Linked DNA regions of Homo sapiens: regions 2 and 3 are each linked to region 1. Evidence: promoter capture Hi-C in 16 types of primary human blood cells and fetal thymus (Javierre and others, 2016). All regions are on one chromosome and are shown on one strand. The core of a region is centred on a gene start or on the middle of the fragment in contact, and the rest is flanking DNA. Distances in the headings are between cores, read along the strand shown. Region 1 overlaps LINC02837 (long intergenic non-protein coding RNA 2837). Region 2 holds the start of SMAD7 (SMAD family member 7). Region 3 holds the start of CTIF (cap binding complex dependent translation initiation factor).

What was found. Contacts are between HindIII fragments. The CHiCAGO score rates a contact against its expected background, and 5 or more counts as called.
Region 2: a contact is called between the fragment with the promoter of SMAD7 here and a fragment that was not itself captured in region 1, in 1 of 17 cell types (neutrophils). The highest score is 7.3, in neutrophils.
Region 3: a contact is called between the fragment with the promoter of CTIF here and a fragment that was not itself captured in region 1, in 1 of 17 cell types (fetal thymus). The highest score is 5.8, in fetal thymus.

The regions. Positions count from the first base shown.
Region 1 is chr18:49,500,603-49,504,083 of GRCh38, reverse strand. The region is part of intron 2 of LINC02837 (long intergenic non-protein coding RNA 2837); the gene reads right to left. Among named protein-coding and RNA genes, the nearest start is that of LINC02837, 3.0 kb to the right of the region's middle. RefSeq lists an enhancer at 3,264-3,481. The HindIII fragment of the contact is 902 bases long and covers 1,483-2,384 here.
Region 2 is chr18:48,948,877-48,952,350 of GRCh38, reverse strand. SMAD7 (SMAD family member 7) reads left to right here and starts at 1,386. Exons shown (of 4, transcript NM_005904.4): 1 at 1,386-2,539. The coding sequence starts at 1,927. RefSeq lists silencers at 213-912, 2,129-2,448. The HindIII fragment of the contact is 3,263 bases long and covers 979-3,474 here.
Region 3 is chr18:48,537,781-48,541,135 of GRCh38, reverse strand. It overlaps CTIF (cap binding complex dependent translation initiation factor), which reads right to left and starts at 2,105. Exons shown (of 12, transcript NM_014772.3): 1 at 1,824-2,105. RefSeq lists silencers at 1-219, 540-629, 1,060-1,419, 1,920-1,999. The HindIII fragment of the contact is 7,178 bases long and covers 1-3,355 here.

The sequences.
Region 1 (3,481 bases), core at 684-3,183:
ACAGGAATGAGTTGACTGTATCCCTGAAGCAGCAAGGAGCCAATGTGGCTGGAGCAAAGTCAGTGCAGAGGAAAAGTATAGGAAATGAGGGCCTGGAGCTAGATCAGCCTGCACAGCACAGTAAGCAGTTTGGACTTTATTGGGTGTGAAATGTGAAGTCTTTCAAGGGTTTTAACCTGGGAAGTGCTTTGGAGAGAAGTGGGGAGTGTTATATTATATAGTTTATATTTTTTAAAGATTACATTTTCTGGTTATAGTTATCATAGTTCTAGAAACTGTATTTTAGGACAACCAAATCACCCCAGTTAATAAGAGAAAGCTCTTTTTACAAAGAATGCCAAGCTATTCAGATTAAAGAAAAATAAAGAGACATGGCAACCAAACACAATGCCTTATTCTGAATTTGGCTCTTCGTCCAAAAAAAATTCTATAAAAGATATTGTTGGGAAAATTGGCGGCAATTAAATATGGTCTCTAGGTTAGATAATATTATTATAGTAAATGTTAAATTTTCTGATTCTAAAACTGATTATGAAAGAGAACAACCTGGCCAGGCACGGTGGCTCATGCCTGTAATCCCAACACTTTGGAAAGCCGAGACGGGCAGATCACCTGAGGTCAGGAGTTCAAGACCAACCTGGCCAACATAGTGAAACCCAGTCTGTACTAAAAATACAAAAATTAGCCAGGCGTGATGGTGGGCGACTGTAATCCCAGCTACTCAGGAGGCTGAGGCAGGAGAATCACTTGAACCCCGGAGGCAGAGGTTGCAGTGAGCCGAGATCGCGCCAATACACTCTAGCTTGGGTGACAGCAAGCCTCTGTCTCAAAAATAAAATAAAAAGAAACAACAACCAGATGTCATGTGGGACCTAGATTGGGTCTTGCTTTGTTTCTGGTTTTTTTGTGTGTGTGTGGCTGCTTTGGTTGGTTGGTTTGTTTGTTTGTTTGTTTGTTTGAGACAGAGCCTTGCTCTGTCACCCAGGCTGGAGTGTAGTGACATGATCTCAACTCACTGCAACCTCTGTCTCCCAGCTTCAAGCAATTCACATGCCTCAGCCTCCAGAGTAGCTGGGACTACAGGTGTGTGCCACCACACCCTGCTAATTTTTTCTATTTTTAGTAGAGACAGGGATTCACCATGTTGGCCAAGCTGGTTTCGAACTCCTGGCCTCAAGTGATCTGCCTGCCTCAGCTTCCCAAAGTGCTGGGATTACAGGTGTGAGTCAGTGTGCCTGGCGGGTCTTGCTTTGAACAAACCAACTGGAAAGGACATTTGGGGAACAACTGGGATAACTGAAATTGAGGTTAGGTATTAGAAGAGATGAAAATGTATCAACATGGTAAAATTGAGATTAACTGGAAAAAAATCTGATTATGAAATAGCATGTACAGTATAATTTCACCTGGTAAGTATATATGTATATACATACACACATGAAGTATATATCTCACACTATACTAGAAGGATATATTAAAGCTTAATCTTTTGGAAATATAAGGATTTTATTTTCTTAATCTGCTTACCTGCTATATCTGACTTTCTATAAAACACATATAAATAATCTTAAATTTTTGAATAATTTTAAAATTTTACTTATTATTTATTTATTTATTGAGATGGAGTCACTCTGTCACCCAGGCTGGAGTGCAATGGTGCGATCTTGGCTCACTGCAACATCTGCCTCCCGGGTTCAAGAGATTCTCCTGCCTCAGCCTCCCGAGTACCTGGGATTACAGGCACGCACCACCATGCCCGGCTAATTTTTTCTTTTCTTTTCTTTTTTCTTTTTCTTTTTTTTTTTTGAGACAGAGACTCGCTCTGTCACCCAGACTGGAGTGCAGTGGTGCGATCTCGGCTCACTGCAACCTCCGCCTCCCAGGTTCAAGCCATGCTCCTGCCTCAGCCTCCCAAGTAGCTGGGACTACAGGCGTGTGCCACCATGCCCGGCTAATTTTTTGTATTTTTAGTAGAGAGAGATGGGGTTTCACCGTGTTAGCCAAGATAATCTCCATCTCCTGACCTCGTGATCCACCTGCCTTGGCCTCCCAAAGTGCTGGGATTACAGGCGTAAGGCATCTTGCCTGGCAACTTTTTCTATTTTTAGTAAAGACAGGGTTTCACCATGTTGGCCGGGCTGATCTTAACTCCTGGCCTCAAGTGATCTGCCACCCCGGCCTCCCAAAGTGCTGGGGATACAAGCGTGAGCCACCGCACCTGGCCAATTTTAAATTTTTTAATAAATAAATTGCTCTGGCTGTTCTAGATGGATTACAGGGGCAATCAAGAGTGGAAGTAGGTTGTCTAGTTGATCAGCAATATGCTTTTCAGTATCTGTTTCCCAAGTCTAGGTGGAAGCCAGATTCTTGCTGGAAATGAAGCTTCTCCTTCATGGGAATCCCACATACATGGCCAAAGAGATCTTACGTCTGGGAGCACAAACTGGGTATGTTAAAGGGCTTGATATTCTCCAGGGTATTTTGTTGTCCAACAAAGCTGGGTAGAGATTTGCACAGGTCCACGGAGCTGCTCAGCAAAGGGAGGGTCTGGAGGAGTGCTATCCAGCAGACTAAAGGCAAGGCACCAGCCCTCTTTGAAGTTATACACTGGTCCAGCCAGGGAAATCACAAGCACACACACATACCCAACATCAGTTAATGACAAGATAAGAAAGAAAATGTACTTTTAAATTTGATCTTAAAACAATTCACAACTCTTAAAAATTATGCAGAATAAGCCAGGCGTGGTGGCTCACGCCTGTAATCCCAGCACTTTGGGAGGCTGAGGCAGGTGGATCACAAGGTCAGGAGTTCGAGACCAGCCTGGCCAATATGATGAAACCTCGTCTCTACTAAAAATACAAAACTTAGCTGGGCGTGGTAGCACGTGCCTGTAGTCCCAGCTGCTCAGGAGACTGAGGAAGGAGAATTGCTTGAACCCAGGAGGCAGAGGTTGCAGTGAGCTGAGATGGCGCCACTGCACTCCAGCCTGGGCAACACAGCGAGACTCTGTCTCAAAAAATAAATACATAAACAAATAATAAATAAAATTATGCAGAATAAGTAGAGCTATAGTAATAAAAAGCAAACTTTGCAGCTTCAGGAATTAAAGTGTCTCACAAATGGAATGAAATCCCTTAGGAAAGCCTAGTGAAGAAAAATGTCAGCTATTACCCTAACTCTGGGAGGTAAGGGAGAGACAGCCAGGCGGCAGAGAGGAGCAGCCAGCAGCCCAAGGTCCGGAGAGGTGAATTAAAGGACTCCAGCCGCCTGACTAAGGGATTACATTTTCCGATTGTTGTGAAAAGAATTCCCCTTTCCTAGCTAATAAAGCCAATTTCTAAGTGAAGCTCAAAACAGCATTGTACGGGAGGCTCCGACTGAGAAGAACAAAGTAAATCCCTGGCAAGGGATTAAGACTTTCCTCTCCTCCCACCACCCTACCCTACTGCCCGCTCTCCTGGAGGCCCAGGAGCCAATC
Region 2 (3,474 bases), core at 137-2,636, 550 kb after region 1:
CCCCCTCTACAGACCCGGGAGGGGGTGGCGGTGGCGGGGGGTTGGGGGGAGAAATAGCTTTTAGAAACCCGATCTGTTGTTTGCGAAACACAATCGCTTTTTTTTTTTTTTTAAAGCGACAGGGTGTCTAGACGGCCACGTGACGAGGCCGGAGCCGGGCGCGCCACTGCGCAGTGGAACCAGCCGAGCAGAGGGCCGGAGGGGGGGTGCGGGGGGGCGGGGAGGAGGCGGCGCGGCTGCGGCGGCTGGGGGCGGGGGAGGGAAGGGGGAGGAAGGGGGAGGGAAGGGGGCGGGGGCGGGAGGCCTTGCGGGAGGCGGTGAGCCCCGGGCACACTCGCTTGCTGCTCGGCGCACGGAAGATCCTGTCCCCGAGCCGCGCCAGCCGAGCCAGCCGGGCGCCGTGCTCGGTCCGCTCGCCGCGCGGGAGAGAGCTGCCCGAGACAGAGCCAGTCCGTCGGCGCCGAGCCGCCGAGCGCCCGGCCCCTGAGCCCCTGAGTGCGGCGCGGCGAGCCCCTGGCGGCGGCAGAAGGACCGGAGCGCCAGGAGAGGGCGGACCGGGGACAAGGAGGCTCCCGGGCGCGACGAGGAGAGTCTCGGAGGAGGAGGCGCCGAGAGGACACCGGGGCCTCCTGCCGCCGCAGCTGGGTCGAGGCGAGCAGCCCATGCGGGGAGCCTCGGCGGCCAGCCGCGGCCAGGGGAAGGGACATCGGCGGCCCCTGCACTAGCAAGCAGCTTGTGCCCGGGGGGGGCGAGAACGCGCGACCCGTCTGGGGCCCTCCGCCGCCGCCGCGCCACCCTCCCCCGCGCTGTCAGCCCCGCCGGGCTCAGCCGCCGCCGCAGCATCTTCTGCCCCTGCGCCCGCGCCAGCCTCGAGGAAGTCCCCGCCGAGGACCTGGGCCCCCAGGAGCGCAGGGGGAAAGACCAGAGACTCCCCTAAACCACCCAGATGCGCAGGATTGAAGCGGTCTAGCCAAAGCTTTCTGTGGATTAAAAAAATACACGATTTTTTTTTTTTTTTTTGGCAGAAGAAAAGGAGAGGAAGACCAGCGGGGCTTTGCAAGGAAACGGGGGGATGTAACTCGTGGATACATTTTTCCACCCATCAAACATCTTGTTATACTTTGTAAACATTTTCTTTTTTTAAACCCCAGTTCCAGCCGGACGCCCCCAGACCTCTGAGGTTCGAGGAGGTGGTGGTTTTCATTTGGGGCTTTGCATATTTGGTTGTTAGGTTTTGCGAGAGCCTTCTTATTTTGCCAGACGTCTCATGCGGGGTGAAGTCCACTCGGCCCCCTCCCCTGAGTCTTCGTGTGCGCGGAATTCGAGGAGATCCGGTTACTAAGGATATAGAGGAAAAAAATAAATCGCTTGCTTTTTTTTTTTTAATTGCCTGCTTCTCCCCACCCCCAAATTAAGTTGCTTAGCAAGGGGGAAAGAGGCTTTTTCCTTCTTCCAACAGCCCAGCCGAACGCCTTTCGTTTTTTGCCCCCGCGGACCTTCCATGTAGGAAGCCGAGGCTGGCGAGCCCGACATTCGGGAGCCACTGCGGGGGGGCCTCTTTTTGGGGAGGCGCCGACGGGGGCAGGCTCGGCCGTCCCCAGGGAAGCGGCGGCCGGGTTCCTCCGGGGCGCGCCGGGGCCGGAGAGCCGCGCAGGGCGCGGGCCGCGCGGGGTGGGGCAGCCGGAGCGCAGGCCCCCGATCCCCGGCGGGCGCCCCCGGGCCCCCGCGCGCGCCCCGGCCTCCGGGAGACTGGCGCATGCCACGGAGCGCCCCTCGGGCCGCCGCCGCTCCTGCCCGGGCCCCTGCTGCTGCTGCTGTCGCCTGCGCCTGCTGCCCCAACTCGGCGCCCGACTTCTTCATGGTGTGCGGAGGTCATGTTCGCTCCTTAGCAGGCAAACGACTTTTCTCCTCGCCTCCTCGCCCCGCATGTTCAGGACCAAACGATCTGCGCTCGTCCGGCGTCTCTGGAGGAGCCGTGCGCCCGGCGGCGAGGACGAGGAGGAGGGCGCAGGGGGAGGTGGAGGAGGAGGCGAGCTGCGGGGAGAAGGGGCGACGGACAGCCGAGCGCATGGGGCCGGTGGCGGCGGCCCGGGCAGGGCTGGATGCTGCCTGGGCAAGGCGGTGCGAGGTGCCAAAGGTCACCACCATCCCCACCCGCCAGCCGCGGGCGCCGGCGCGGCCGGGGGCGCCGAGGCGGATCTGAAGGCGCTCACGCACTCGGTGCTCAAGAAACTGAAGGAGCGGCAGCTGGAGCTGCTGCTCCAGGCCGTGGAGTCCCGCGGCGGGACGCGCACCGCGTGCCTCCTGCTGCCCGGCCGCCTGGACTGCAGGCTGGGCCCGGGGGCGCCCGCCGGCGCGCAGCCTGCGCAGCCGCCCTCGTCCTACTCGCTCCCCCTCCTGCTGTGCAAAGTGTTCAGGTGGCCGGATCTCAGGCATTCCTCGGAAGTCAAGAGGCTGTGTTGCTGTGAATCTTACGGGAAGATCAACCCCGAGCTGGTGTGCTGCAACCCCCATCACCTTAGCCGACTCTGCGAACTAGGTGAGAAGTTGTCCCCCTACCCCCAACATTTTCCGGAGCGCCAGTGCTGGAAGAAAAGCCCCTAGGGCAGTGCGTTTGTGCAGCCATCCCTCCAGGGGGAGTGTGCATACCCTCCTGGGAGAGTGTGCATACCCTCCTGGGAGAGTGTGCATACCCTCCTGGGAAGAGACTGGGGGCTGAAAGTAGAGAAGGGACAAGGGGAAACTCAAAGGGCATTCCCTGGGGGTTCCCTTCCAGGTTTTCTCCTGTGTTGCCCCGAAGGGGTCTACGGGCACTGCTCCTGCAGTCTGCGGTTAAAAATTAGACGCCTTCATTTCCGGATCAACAAGGGGGTGCAGAGGGAGGTGGGGGGGTCACGCCTCCCCGCACCCGGAAAGACGTTGAGGTGTGTGGCCGAGTTGGATTTGGTCCAGGCCCGCCAAGGAAGGCTGGGAGAGGCGTGCTATAAAGGCTGGAAGGTCTCCGTATTTACTCCTTTAGTAAATACGGAGAATCACGTCGAACACCAGTGGCCCAGATACTGTCGTGGCCGCGCACCTTTGGAGTTTTGGGGCAAAGAGAGTTGGATGGAAGGCCGAACTGGGTATCTGTCTCCTTTCAACTCTGCCAGCCCCAGGGTGCAGAGGAACAAACAGGCAGGAGAAGTTGGGTGTCCCCTACTTTTTCCTTCCTTCCGCACAGATAAGTCTGTAGATTAGTGGGGCCCCGGCGCCTCAGTGACGTTGTCGCCTCTTACTGCGCTGGGGCCTGGGCTTCTCGGCTGAGACCCTGAAACTCCTTTCCTTTTATCCTCTCAGCTTTCTCCATTCCTTCCTTTACTCTACGTCTCTGTACACAGAGTGTGATGTGAGGGTTCACCCCGGGCGCCCGCAGATCCCCCACGTTCCCCAGCACGCTTGGGATGCATCTCCCGAGTGCGCTAGGAATGGGCAGCC
Region 3 (3,355 bases), core at 856-3,355, 960 kb after region 1:
GAAGGCAGCGGCGGCGAGCGCGGGCACGCACACCCATAGAACGCCTCGGTGCGGGGTCACCCCAGCGTGGACTGGGGGCGGCGCAGCCAAACCAACCCCCCGCGCCGCCGGGTGGACCCCCAGTCTGCCGGGTCACGGGGCGTCGCGGACGCGGAGGGAGGGGCTGTGTGACTCCGGCCGCACAGCGGACCTGGGACTCCTGCACCGAAGACCAGCACACGCGACCCTACGGTCTTCCCCGGCCCACAGCCGCACGGTCCCCTCTCCAAGTAACTCGGGCGCGCGCGCGCGGGGACACACGACCCCGACTTAGACAAGGAGGGGGCTGGCGGGACAGGTCGCGCGGAGGATCGGGGCCCACGCTTGTCCCCACTACGCCGCGGTCTGCGGTCCCCGCCCCCCACACACACCGGAGCCGTGTGTACACACAAACAGCCGGGCGGGGGAGGCGACGCCTCACTCCTCGGGGTGGAGACGCACGCGGCGCCGCCAGTCAGCCCTCCCCTCTACACGCCGCACACCCCGCGGTGCTCACACCCCCCAGCCCCAACCCTGAAAACTCCGCGGAACCAAACAGAGCCAACGCCGCCCAGATAACGGGCTCGGACCACCCCCCTCCCGATTGTCTTTTACCATCAATAGAGAAACACTCGGCTCAGGCGCGCGGTGTCCCGGACGCCCCCTCCGGCCACATCCAGGCACCGGCACGCGGCCCTCCGAGGCCCCAGACCTTCGCCGCAGCCCAAGCCATCGCCCCCCCGCCCGCCCTCCCCCATGACCGGCGCCCGGGACAGTTACCTGCTCGTCGTCCTGATGAACCCGAGCCGGAGCCCACCCCACGGCCTCTCGGGTCACTCGCCACCCAGAGGTGGCTTTTCAGAGCCTGTCAAGTGAACCCCTCTCCGCCGGGCGTATCTATTCCCCAGGCCCGATTGCACCGCAGCGACAGGAATAATAAAAAAAGCCAACAGAACCACAACCGTTGGGAATAACCAAAGGGGAGACCGCAACGGGTCCACCGATTTGGTTTCTTCCTCTGCTCCCATCCCCCGCTCCCCCCGCGGCCCGCGGGCTCACCGGGGACGCAGGGAGGGGGCTGCGCCCTGTCTAGACGACAGCCATCCACAGACATCCCCGAGCCCGCGGGGACGGGCGCGCACACTCACACACGCCCGCTGCCACAGACACAATCAGTCACCGGGGAAGGGAGGGGCGGCGTGGCGACACACTCTCGGGGTCCCTCCCGCAGCCCCGAGTGCCGCAGCCCCCGGCCCCCAAACGCCACCCCGAGACGGGCTCCCTACCTCGGCGGAGCGCGGTCTGAACAGCTGCAAGTTTGGCTGATACTAAACCAACTGCTCGATGCAGCAAATGCGGGCTTCAAAACAAAAGGGAGAGGAATCGCGCTCGCTCTTTTCCTCCTCCCAGGTCGGAACCCGGCACATGACAGCGGCTACACCGCGCAGCTCCAAAGCGAGCCGGGCTCCAGCCGTGCGTCCCCCAAGAGCCCCCCTTGGCGCCGGAGCTCCAGGGCCACGACACCCCGCGGGGCGGGGAACCCGGCAGGGAATGGGACAAACCCAGGGAGGGGGCGACACTGTGGAGTGCAGTTCCCCACCGAGGGGGAGGAGGGGATGGTAGATGGGTGCGGACACCCCGCTGGCCCAGGAGCAGGGATGGGGGGAAGGGGGCTGATTGTTTGGGGCGGTTTTCCCGGATTTATCTATAAGCACGCCCACGTCACGCAGCCCTCCTCCCGGGTCCCCGAATCGATCAGCAAGCTGAGATGACTATAAGAGGAGGACGGGCGAGGAGATGCTCACCTCGGGGTTCCTCTGGCCGCCGCGCCAAGCCCGAGTCGGGGGTGGGGGAAGGGGGCAGGGAAGGGGAAGGGAGGGACGAGGCTCCGGAGAGCCGACTCCTGCCTCGAGTTCGGAGCGTCCCAGCTGCGGAGGGGATCGGGCGCCCCAGCGCACAGACCCAGCAGAGAGGGGAGGGAGGGAGGGAAGGGAAACAGGGAGGGAGGGGCGGGTAGGGGGGAGGGAGTAGAGGAAGGAAAAAAAATGATCCCTGATCTGACACAGGGAAAGAGAATGTAGGAGAGTGACGTTCAGGCCCCGCCCTCCCCTCCGGCCACGTGCAAAGACTTGAAAGGAAAGAGGGCGGCTGGAGGCCTGCTGGGTAATGTAGTTCGCCTTTCTTTTCCAGGATGGCGGGCCCTGGAGAGCAGGGTGGCCCCAGGACGCTCGGGATGTCGCCTTAGCTGCCAAGACAGCCCAGTCTAGCGACGCCAAAACCCGCCGCCCAGCGACCCCACGGCGCTGGCGCAGCCCTGGGTGGGGGCCTCTGCGGTGGGAGAACTGGGGGCTTAGGCGCAGTCCAGGCTTACAGGGAAACGTTGGTTTTAGAGTCCGAAAGGCTTTAAGGATGAGAACGTCCGTGCCGAAAGTGCAAAGTCTGTGCTAATGGCAGATGAAAAGGAGCTTTGTGTATGCACTGGGGGGCCCAAGTGGCGTGATTAATGCTGCACTAAATGCCACCGTCGGTTATTGAGATGCATATGTTATAATTAACATTTGAGCATCTCTGTGTCGGGGGCTGGCTGTTGTAATTAGATACGCACTTTGCAACCAATTAATTTTCCTTCGGCCAAGCTAAGGGCTGGGACGGGGTGGTTGGGAGAATTCAACGTAGTGGATAATTCAGTAATGACTTAACCAGATCACCAATGTTTTGGTTAAAACTGAGCTTGGCACAGAGAGGCCTTCAGGAGAAATACTGAATAAAATACTGTATGCCCCAACAGGGAAGGGGGCTAGAAATTCATTAGAGGAACTGTGTGATGCAGTATAAACTGCTGTAGAAACCCATTTATTCATTAGTTTATATTCACATTTAGTGAGCACTTTCCACAGACCAGGTGTGTCTAGGAATGCCAAAACAGGTAAGACTCACAGTCTCTGCGCTCAAGGAGCTCAGTCCAGTATTAGGGACTACAGTCAATGAAAGTATTATACAAGGGATAAGTCAGCGCTTAACACAAAGTGCTGTGAAATTCCCCCCACCACACAACCTGGAGCAGCCAACTGGATGGAGGGTGGGTGGGGTCTGGGAGAGGGTCAGGAAGACTTCCTGGAGGAAGTGATACTTGAGCAAAGAATTTCTAAGTTTTTTTTTCTTTTTTTTTTTTTTTGGAGACTGAGTCTCTCTTTGTTGCCCTGGCTGGAGTGCAGTGGCGTGATCTTGGCTCACTGCAAGCTCTGCCTCCCTGGTTCATGCCATTCTCCTGCCTCAGCCTCCCAAGTAGCTGGGACTTCAGGCGCCCGCCACCACACCTGGCCAATTTTTTTTTTTT